Linked DNA regions of Homo sapiens: region 1 is linked to region 2. Evidence: promoter capture Hi-C in human tissues and cell types (Jung and others, 2019). All regions are on one chromosome and are shown on one strand. The core of a region is centred on a gene start or on the middle of the fragment in contact, and the rest is flanking DNA. Distances in the headings are between cores, read along the strand shown.

Region 1 (5,658 bases), core at 1,032-3,531, 150 kb before region 2:
ACCAACATGGAGAAGGCCCATCTCTACTAAAAATACAAAATTAGCCGGGTGTGGTGGCACATGCCTGTAATCCCAGCTACTCGGAAGGCTGAGGCAGGAGAATTGCTTGAACCTGGGAGGTGGAGGTTGCGATGAGCCAAGATCTCGCCATTGCACTCCAGCCTCGGCAACAAGAGCGAAACTCCGTCTCACGAAAGAAAGAAAGAAAGAAAGGAAGGAAGGAAGGAAGGAAAGAAGGAAAGAAGGAAATTACTACTGTAGTGTTTATCCAATGCTTTACTTTATTCTTCCAGAAATACTTGCATTTGACTAGGTTATTTAGTGTGTATAATTCTCTGAATTAGAAATATCAAAGACATTTGTCACAAGTATAGTTTTCTGGGACACAGAGCTAATACGTTTTAGCCAGGAAATAGGCAAATGAGGTTAGGCCCTAGTGGATAAATTAGAAATTAGAATAGCTGTGGTATAATTACCAAGAGTTTCATATGCACATCAATATTTGAGAACCACCTAGGCAATTAAGGAAGTTTGTTGCCCGCCCTTGACATCATCATCTAAGCTGCCTATCAGTGTTGTCCCTTATGCCATCAGCAATCACCTAATTTATATATTTATAATTTCAGGCACAAATGAAGGATGACTAAAATACTAACTGGCTTCTTTAATTTGCATTATGGGTCTTATTTTGTTCATGTCATCTCTGACCATTATGACATTCTTCAGCAAGAGGAAATGAGTTTATTTCTGTTCATGGAGCAATAACTGCTTCCAGTCCTTAGCCTGCATTAATTATTTATAATGGTAGCTACAAACATATGTCTTATCTGACAACACAGTCTCTAGGGTTCTTGCTATTTCTCCATCACTCAATGAAATTGTATCTCCTTATAAGATACCAATTAGTTTGTTATATGAATGCTTTTTCACCTGCTTTGCGTATAAAAAATTACTGCAAATATCATCAGTCTTCTGGGCCTGGGAAAATGAATTCCTTACTCTTATGGACATGTGCTTCATAAAATCCCATGTGATACATATGGCAAGGCCCATCTTGCTTTAAAGGTACCATTACAGGAAAATACATACTTATGCAGAAAGCCTAATACAAATCTGTTAAGAGAGATGGTACGAATCTGGCATAATGAGAATGAAGATGCTAACAGAGCATACTGGCCAGTAAGACACAGTCAGCTTGTCACATATGCTTACTTCTTAGTACTTCTTAGTGAAACTCTCAAGGTTTTTCAAGAAATCCATAAAACTAAAACTGTTGCCTTTGATTACCTTACTGCCCCCAAAACTGGTCTCTTTGCGAAACTCTCACACTATTCATCATCTTATTCCAGGAAAGAAAAACAGTTCCTTGTTTTCAAATATTCTGAGGTTTTTCATGTTGCCTCAATCCTCTTTCATGCAAATACCATTTTTGACTTTGTTAGATAAAGTCAATGTATTCTAAGTTTTGCTTTTATACAAGCAAAGTAGTGTACTAGTAATTTACTATGCCTTTTTCTTTGATTTTGGTTTAAGAACTAATTTTCTCCCAACTACTTCAGGGTCATGAAAAGTGCAATAAGCAGCATAAACTATGAAGTAACTGAGAATTGACATCCTTTCTGTCATCTTCGTTTTCATGCCTCTCCCTTTGAACACACACTAGGAAAAAGCTATCTTAGTGAAATAGTCTTCTACGCCTTGATCGTCTTGTGCAGTGCAGTGCATCATGAGCAACAACACAAAGGTCTCTCGGTCTTAGTGTCACTTAGACATTAAGGGAGCATTTTTGTTGAACTAATAAATATGAGGGATTGAATTATTTCTGGCCAGACATTTAACCATAAGAGAATATTTACAATTTAGAAAAAAGCTAACATTATAAGCAATGTAATATAAGCAATGTAATATGCTTTTTTGTATATATTCCAAGGATTTGGAAGCATATTTCTGTGTGTCCTTTATATTTTATGGGTGACCACAAACTACTGCATGTGTGACTACACAGGAATGCATAAATATGTCCTAGCTATGATGTTTAGTCTTGTCAAAGATCTGTTAATAGTTTAAAAACATGTTCGCTACAGTTTTCCATATTAAAAATTTGAAACAAGCTTAAACTAGCAAAATTACAGAAGAGTACTCCAACAAAAATTTCTTTCTCTTATCTCTCAAATGAGAAAGTAATTGTCATACCTACCTTAAAATACTTACTGTTTTGATAATTTTTCACGATTTCAGGTGGCAGCTCCCTAATGGGTTGAACTGTGTTGTGTTAAGGAAGTTGTAACTTTGTACTGGTTTAACTTGATCATCAACCTTCAGGTACTTCCTGAAGGATCTTGAGGTCTCCTAGTTTTGCATTTTCACGCTACAATAAACACTCTTTTTAGAAACTTCCTTATTTTACACTTTGGAAATATTTTCCTTGGACTCTGTCATAATGGTAAGAAATTTTGATGTAAGGGAGGAAAGCAACAGATTTCCTCTGATTTCAGAAGAGCAGAGAGTTAGCTTTTCTATCCCCAAAATATTTATTTTTTCTGCTCTATCTCTTGGAAGTGCACTGGGATCATATGAATAAATAGAGGATCCTTAGTGGCCAGGTTCAAACATCACTAATGAAGCTTCTGTGTAATTAACTTTGGCAAAGCAACTAAAATAGGAGGCAACAGAGACACTTTCTTTTGAGAGAGTAATGCAGAACAATAGCATCAGATAGAGGCCTGGTGCCCATGCTAATGAGAAAAATAATGCACAAGTCTGATTCTATTTCCTAATACACTTTTATAAGGATATGAGTATGTCTGTTTTTTAATAATCAAAATATTTTGCTTAATCTAATCCCCCATAATATAATTTGGTGAAGTATCTACCATATATGGAAATCAGTGTGGATGAAAGTTACTATGTATACAGAGATATTGTAAAATCAGTTCATATTGTGTTAATCATAGGATAACTTATTTACATTTGAAAAACAGAAGAAATTACATAGGTCAGATATATTATTTATTCTGTCTACAGACAATGTCTTGTAAGACCATCATTACATGGATGACCTTCAAAAACAGTTCACACCATTAAGAACCACTGTTTCAATGCATTCCAGCTTTGTAATGTTTGTTTCTGGGATTTTTAAATAAGCGTATTTAAAAGTAACATCTCAAACTGACTGTGAATGCTTTAAAAGTGCACAAAATTAGGTTTGGAGGGCTGGCCAGAAGTATTGCTTAAGGTTAAATAACAAAGAGATATGAAAGTCATAGCCTCTATGTAAATTTTTATCAATAAGATTTTATTGTTTCTTTTGTGTATGTTATGCTTCCATCATTAGATTCATTGTCAAGTATTTGTGTAGTTCTATGTTATTTTCAATTATATATAATATATAGTTATATAATATTTACATATTATTTATACATAGCATATTTTTGATATAATGATATTAGAAATTCATTTAATTTTGCAGATTACCATTGCTCCATCAACATTGTTAAACTTAATTATACTATTAAAATTGTCTATAGAATATGTTGAATGTTTTTATGTACACTTCGTAGATTTTTTAATGATTATTCAGGGCCCCTCCATTTAAAAGAAATTTATTTCTTGACCTGTAGACTTCCTTTGAAGTGAAAATATAGCAGCAACAGCCTAGGTTATGCTGCAGTAGTGAAAATTTTAGTAAAGTCATCACCTGAGATAATCTGAAAGGTAGATATATACCAAAAGCATCTGTGGCTTTATGAATGGGAATTTGGAATTAACCTGTTTGCTATAAAGAAACTGATAAAAGAATTGGCCTATTTGGCACTTGGTATGAATGGGAATAGAGAAGATCCACAAACAACTGGGAATTAGATTTGAAGATCCAACCATATCTCACCTCCCCAAGTTAAAAATAAAATTTAGTCATTCTTTGAGGTATATTAAAACCATCTCACAGCAAGAACATGCCAGTGATGTTGCTACCACATTATTTGTTTCAGCCTCTGAATCTATTAACTCAATATCTTAACATTAAGTATGTAATTTCTGTTGGGTGTGGGACTTTTTCAGAAGGACATAGCTCTGCCTTAAAAATCTCTTAAGTTTAAAGTATCTGTAATTAAGTGTAAATAGGCACTTAAAAATAATAATGAGTGAGATTATTGATATATACAAGTAAGAATCCAGCATGTTAAAAGAGGATCATGTTTTTGAGTGGTTAGCCTGGGTAGGAGAGATTGAATGTAAATCAATTTTCTGCTCCACAGTCTGTAGACAAAAAGAAAAAGAAAAAAGAAGGCTAAGAAATAAACTTAGTCCCAAGGGAGTTTTATTTTTCTTTAATGTTTGTTGAGGGAAGTCAGGGACCCTGAATGGAGGGACAAGCTGAAGCTATGGCAGAAGAACATAAATTTTGAAGATTTCATGGACATTTATTAGTTCCCCAAATTAATACTTTTATAATTTCTTTTGCCTGTCTTTACTGCAATCTCCGAACATAAATTGTGAAGATTTCATGGACATTTATCACTTCCCCAATCAATATTCTTGTGATTTCCTATGCCTGTCTTTACTTCAATCTCTTAATCCCGTCATCTTCATAAACTGAGGATGTGTGTCACCTCAGGACCCTGTGATGATTGTGTTAACTGCAAAATTGTTCATAAGCATTTATGTTTAAACAATATGAAATCTGGGCACCTTGAAAAAAGAACAGGATAACAGTGATGTTCAGGGAACAAGGGAGATAACCGTTAGGTCTGGCTGCTTGAGAGCCGGGTGGAACAGAGCCATATTTCTCTTCTTTCAAAAGCAAATAGGAGAAATATCACTGAACTCCCCTTTCTCAGCAAGAAACAGCCCTGAGAAAGAGAATGCATTCCCAGGGGTAGGTCTCTAAAATGGCCGCTCTGGGAACATCTGTCTTTCACAGTTGCAGATAAGGGATGAAATAAGCCCCGGTCTCCAGTAGTGCTCCCAGGCCTATTAGGACAAGGAAATTCCCACCTAGTAAATTTTTAGTCAGACTGGTTGTCTGCTCTCAAACCCTGTCTCCTGATAAGATGTTATCAATGACAATGCATGCCCGAAACTTCAATAGCAATTTTAATTTTGCCCTGGTCCTGTGATCTCACCCTGCCTCCATTTGCCTTCTGATATTTTATTACCTTGTGAAGCATGTGATCTCTGTGACCCACACCCTATTTGTACACTCCCTCCCCTTTGAAAATCACTAATAAAAACTTGCTGGTTTTGCAGCTCAAGGGGCATCACGGAACCTGCCGACATGTGATGTCTCCCCCAGATACCCAGCTTTAAAATTTCTCTCTTTTGTACTCTTTCCCTTTATTTCTCAGACCGGCTGACACTTAGGGAAATAGAAAAGAACCTATCTGAGATAACGTTGAATTATCGGAGGGGGGGTTCCCCCAATAAATGTTCTTTAAAATTTCTTTAGAACGTTTTTGGATATGGCAAAGTAAAAAAGAAAAGCAGATACCTCTCAGATTGTGACTCAAGAGCCATGAAATAAAAGTGGCTGGGTCTTATTCTCAAGGAACGTAACTGGGAACCAGTCAAGAGGCTTCCCACAGCTACAGAGTAAGAGGCCCCTGCATTGCCTATCAAGTTCTATTTTAGACTTGGTATTGACAGTGTTTGCTGTGTATT
Region 2 (5,600 bases), core at 179-2,678:
GAGAGAAAGAGAAGAGAGTGTGAGAGAGACACAGAGGGAGAGAGAGAGAGAGAGATTTGATCCCAACTAAACGAGATTTATTTTTTTCAGGAGTTCTGAAACAACCTAATACTTAGACATTAATTCTTCTCATTCTGTATACAAATCTCATCTCCACTTTCTGAAAATCTAGACTATATCTTCATAATATAAAATTGTAGTATCACTTGATTTTCAGTCTGAAAGTATCCTTCCATGTATTCATTTATCTCTGAGGAAACTCAGGACCCATGATCTCAGATAGCTTTCCTCAGATAATGTAATTGGTTAATGGTGTAAGACTTTCATCCCCAGGACCATAATTGTGTCATTTTCATCACCATTTTCATCTTTTTTTGTCATTGTCATCATTGTCATCATTGTCATGATCACATATCTAAGACATTCAAATGTATGAACAGAACTGATTTATATTTCTTATTGACGTAGGAATGTTATTATCATCTTTATTCATTCTCTGGTTTCCTGTATGTAGACAAAAGCAGGCAAAAGCTATTCTTGTTTACCACAGTACTATATCAAATCTTAGTTTATGTTCAATTCCTTTATTTTACCACTCAGTTTTAATAATGCATTGCTAACAAATTATGAAGTGATAGCTATGATACCATCTTAAGCATGTAGATGACAGTTAATAAAGTATTTTTATGGTTCTGTTTCAATCAAATAGGCACCTTGAAAATTAAGAAAAAATTAAATATTCAGTTGTAATGTTTCTAATGATTCCAAATATAACTTTTTTCATATAACAAATTATCTGTTTTGAAAGGGAATGGTTATTGTACAAAATCAAAATTGCTGAGAATGAAAGCATTAATAGCAGATGATCTGTAATTCTCTCACTCTATCCTTGATGATGCATGAGGTAGTTTTGATTTAGATTAGACCTTGCAAATGCTCAGATAGAATTTACTAGTTGAAAGACAACCAGCTACTTGGGAGGCTGAGCCATGAGAATAGCTTGAATCCGGGAGGTGGAGGCTGCAGTAAGCTGAGATTGCATCACTGCACTCCAGCCTGGGTGACAGAGCAAGATCCTGTCTCAAAAAAAAAAAAAGAAACTGTTAACATAGGCAGTAGTACAGACGAATCTCAAAATAATTAGGCTGGGTGAAAGAAGCCTAGTCAAAAAGAATACTGCATTATTCTATTCCTATAACATTCTAGAAAATGTGATAGTAAATAGAAATGTAATCTACAGTGACATAAAGCAGGTAAGTGATTCCTGAAGTATAGTGACAGAGGTATAGTAAGCAGGGATACAATGTTGCATTAGGAAACTTTTGGTAGTGCTGGATATGTTCAATATTGTACTTGCAGTGATGATTTCAGCTTTATATAATTCTTAGAAAATATAAAATAAGGCTGGGCACTGTGGTTCACACCTGTAATCCCAGCGCTTTGGGAGGCCAAGGTGGGTAGATCATTTGAGGCCAGGGGTTTGAGACCAGCCTGGGCAACATGGCAAACCCAGTCTTTACTAAAAACAGAAAAATTAGCCGGGTGTGGTAGTGCACGCCTGTAATCCCAGCTACTTCAGAGGCTGAGGCAGGAGAATCACTTGAACCTGGGAGGCGGAGGTTGCAGTTCATGCACGTTGAGATTGTGTCACTGCACTCTAGCCTGGGCAACAGAGCGAGATTCTGTCTCAAAAAAAAAAAAAAAAAGAAAGAAAGAAAATATAAAATATTTTACACGTGTCGAAGCTTATATTGTATACTTTAAATCTATGCAGTTTCTTCCATACCACCTCAATAAAGCTTTTAAAATGTGTATTGACTCAAAATGAATCACTTTGCTGAATAAATACTGCATATAATAAATATGTGCTTTTTGTATATAAGACCCAATGGTTTTATAAAATTGTTATGAAAACAAATCTAGAGTTGTTCCTTATCAACACAATGCCATTAAAACCACTGGTTAATATAAGGTTTATCTCAAAGTCTTTTTCTCAATTCTAGTTCCTTTTCTACATAGCAAATTTATGTTAAGTAATTCTGATCATGGGAAATAATGCAGTCTTCTCCTTGAGCAGCACTAGTGTGGGTCAGCACATTCAATCATTCAGCAAGCTTCCAGCCAGGAAAAGAACAATTTCTTTGTGTAGGTATTTCAACTTGGCTTCAGGAAGGTAATCGAACCACATTTTTTCTTTTCTCTATCCCACTCCTCTCGTTTCTGGTTTTAAGATCAATACTTCCAGCTCTTTGTAAGCATGACATAAATGCATCTACTTCCAGTTGTTGGTGACAGTCTTTAGAATGGCATACAATGCCTTATATTTTGAACGTTTATAGCAATTCATGAGCAATATGAAATTCTCATTTAATATCCAAATTTGCAAGCTACTTTTATTTATTACCAAAATTGTGATTACTAGTATTATCACTGAATGATTCCGAGACTCTTAAATTATTAAAAATGTTTTTTTTTCCATGTTCTACTCCTAGAGTCCTATTTTCCATTTCTTCTGAAAGCTTCATCTTTAGGTATTTCACACCCCACTACCCCTGAAAACAACATTATTGTTTTGATGATTAAAAGAGTAATCCTGCATTGAAACATTGTATTCATTTATAAGGGTCTCACTATTAAAATTAGTTAAAGTATAACTACAGAGAATGTTAAAAAGTCTGCCTGGCTGGGCCCCGTGGCTCACACCTGTAATCCCAGCACTTTGGGAGTCTGAGGCAGGTGGATTGCCTGAGGTCAGGAGTTTGAGACCAGTCTGGCCAACATGGTGAAACCCCGTCTTTACTAAAAATATACACAAAAAATTAGCCGGGCGTGGTGGCTTGCGCCTGTGATCGCAGCTACTCAAGAAGCTGAGGCAGGGGAATTGCTTGAACCAGGGAGGTGGAGGTTGCAGCGAGCCGAGATACCACCACTACACTCCAGCCTGGGTGACAGGGCGAGACTCCATCTTAAAAAAAAAAAAAAAGAAAAGAAAAAAGAAAAAAGAAAAAAAGAAGTCCGCCTATAGTCTGTAATCAGTGAAACTATAAACACTTAATTGGGGATAAATTGAATCCAAATTTGGATTCAACTGTAAAAACGGCAACCCATTTTGGCCTCCTTTTTACTGTGGAGAACTTTTTTTTGCTTATTAAGCTTTCGCTCCAACCTCACCCTTGTGTCCACACTTATTAATTTTCTTGGTTGTGAGACAATGAGCTCGGATAACACTTCAGACAATGAGACCATTGACCCTAGATCATTTCAATTTCTCCTAGCATGTCTCCAACACTGATATCACTCTTTGGGTAGAGCCAGTGATAGAAGCAATGATTTGATATTTCTGAAACCATGGCTTTGGTTCTTTCAAAGAAGCTACTTTGAATTCTATGTTGCCAACTGAATACCACATATGTCTCTTTTTTTTCAACTTTTATTTTAGGTTTAAGGGTACATGTGCAGGTCTGTTACATGAGTGAATTGCATGTTGCTGAGGTTTGGGGTACAAATGATCCCATCACCCAGGTAGTGAGCATAGTATTTGATAGGTCATTTTTTAACCATCACTTCCCTTTCCCTCTCTAGTAGTCCCTAGTAGCTATTGTTCCCATCTTTATGTCCATGTGTACCCAATGTTTACCTCCCACTTGTAAGTGAGAATATGCAGTATTCGGTTTTCAGTTTCTGCATTAATTTATTTAGGATAATGGCCTGCAGCTGCATCCATGTGGCTGCAAAAGACATGATTTAATTCTTTTTTTATGATTGTGCAGTATTCCCGTATTTGACCTTTTTCATTGTTCTGTAAATGCAGAGGAGATACCGGGAGGCCATTTTTCAGAATCCCCTGATCAGTATAGTTCTATCTCAAAGTTTTTCAGTGAGAGTACTTTGCTCAAAATTTGGAAGTTGTAAGAGAAGCAGAGGCTGTTATTTTCCAGAGGTATTTATAGTCAAACCGGAGAGCAAGGTGAGATCCATAGTAACTTCTCATTAACTGTTTGAGAACTACATACTTTACTGCTAAGACTATTGGTTAGAACTTTCTCAAAAATTACTGAAAGTCACTGCCATTTCCCACTGAGCTTTCCTGAATCATTCTCTGTAGGGCTTGGAGCTGAAATCTCTAGTTCTAGTTTCCTCAAGCTTCATCTCTGGTTCTCAGACTTTTGCTTCCCTTCCATTCTTCAAAAGAAGGTTGAGTCTTGGAGCCTACTGCATACAAAAGAGTATAAGTTAATTTGGGGTTGAAATGGGTCACTAAAATGAGCAAGCAAATGAGGAATTGAGATCCTCCATGTGTATCCTTTTTCTTTTCCTTTAGAGACAATTTTTGAAGCTCCACTGCATTGGAGAATAGGATTGAGAAGTAGAGTCACCAAGACATAGGGCAAAAATTCCTTCCAATTAACTCCCATTTGTTGGATCAGCTTATTTCTAAAAGACATTATAGGAAGATAGAGGCCTTCAGGGATTGGCAATTCAGAATATGGAATGTAATCAGGTTTCACACTGATCAAACTAAATGGTTCAGTTATGTGAAGATATTCTTCAGAGAATAAAAATACCAAAGTATGGGATAAAGGAGATAATGCTGGCTGTCACAAAAGGACACTAGATATTCTGCCAAATTCTATCAACAAAAAGGAATTAACTATGAATGCATGCAATAGCATGAATGAAACTCAAAAAATATTATCCTGAGCAAAAGCAGCCATACATAAAGTTCACACGGTATGCCCTCTTTTGTAAGAAATTCCAGGCTGAGTACCATGGTTCATGCTTGTAATGCCAACACTTTGAGAGGCAGAGGCAGGAGGATTGCTTGAGCTCAGGAATTTAAGACCAACCTGGGCAACACAGCAAGACCTCACCTCTACAAAAATTAAAAAATTAGCTGGGTGTGATGGTGTGCACCTGTAGTCCCAGCTACTTGGGAGGTTGAGGTGGGAGGATTGCTTGAGCTCCGGAGTTTGAGGCTGTAGTGAACCATAATTATGCCACTCCACTCCAGCCTCTGAGACACTGTCTTAAAATATATATATATAAAATAAAGAAATTTCAGAAAAGACAAAACACATCTGTAGTGACTGAAAGAACACCAGTGAACACCTCAATCCAGTGACAGATGGGGTTAGAGGTGGGAGATGGAGAATGACTGGAAAGAGGCAAAGGAAACTATTTAATATGTTGTAAATGTTTTCTGTATTTTTACATGAATATGAATATTTGTCCAAATGCATTGTTTTATGTATGCTATTGTATAAAAGATATACTTAATTAATTTGGTAAAAATTTACACAAGCAGAATTGATTAGAAAGCTTTTAGTTTATGAATTATTTAAAATACATGAAAAGTTTCCCAAACTCAAATATAAGTAAATTATACCTTGAATTTATTTCATGGGTTACTATCACATGTAGACTTCAGAGATTATAAGACAACATAAACAATTTGAACCAGGGCCTTAAGTTAAATTATTAATTAATTAATTAATTTATTTATGTTTGAGATGGAGTCTCACTCTGTCGCTGAGGCTGGAGTGCAATGGCACGATCTTGGCTCACTGCAACCTACGCCTTCTGCGTTCAAGCGATTCTCC

Evidence for each region. Contacts are between HindIII fragments. The study calls those that stand out against the background at their distance.
Region 1: a contact is called between the fragment with the promoter of OR6C2 here and a fragment that was not itself captured in region 2, in 3 of the 25 tissues and cell types used here (H1 embryonic stem cells, adrenal gland and ovary).

The regions. Positions count from the first base shown.
Region 1 is chr12:55,440,699-55,446,356 of GRCh38, reverse strand. OR6C2 (olfactory receptor family 6 subfamily C member 2) reads right to left here and starts at 2,281. Exons shown (of 2, transcript NM_054105.2): 1 at 2,198-2,281. All of the region lies in intron 1 of LOC124902940 (a long non-coding RNA gene), which reads left to right. The HindIII fragment of the contact is 10,123 bases long and covers 1-2,368 here.
Region 2 is chr12:55,285,672-55,291,271 of GRCh38, reverse strand. No RefSeq gene overlaps it. Among named protein-coding and RNA genes, the nearest start is that of OR6C6, 8.1 kb to the left of the region's middle. The HindIII fragment of the contact is 6,606 bases long and covers 1-4,731 here.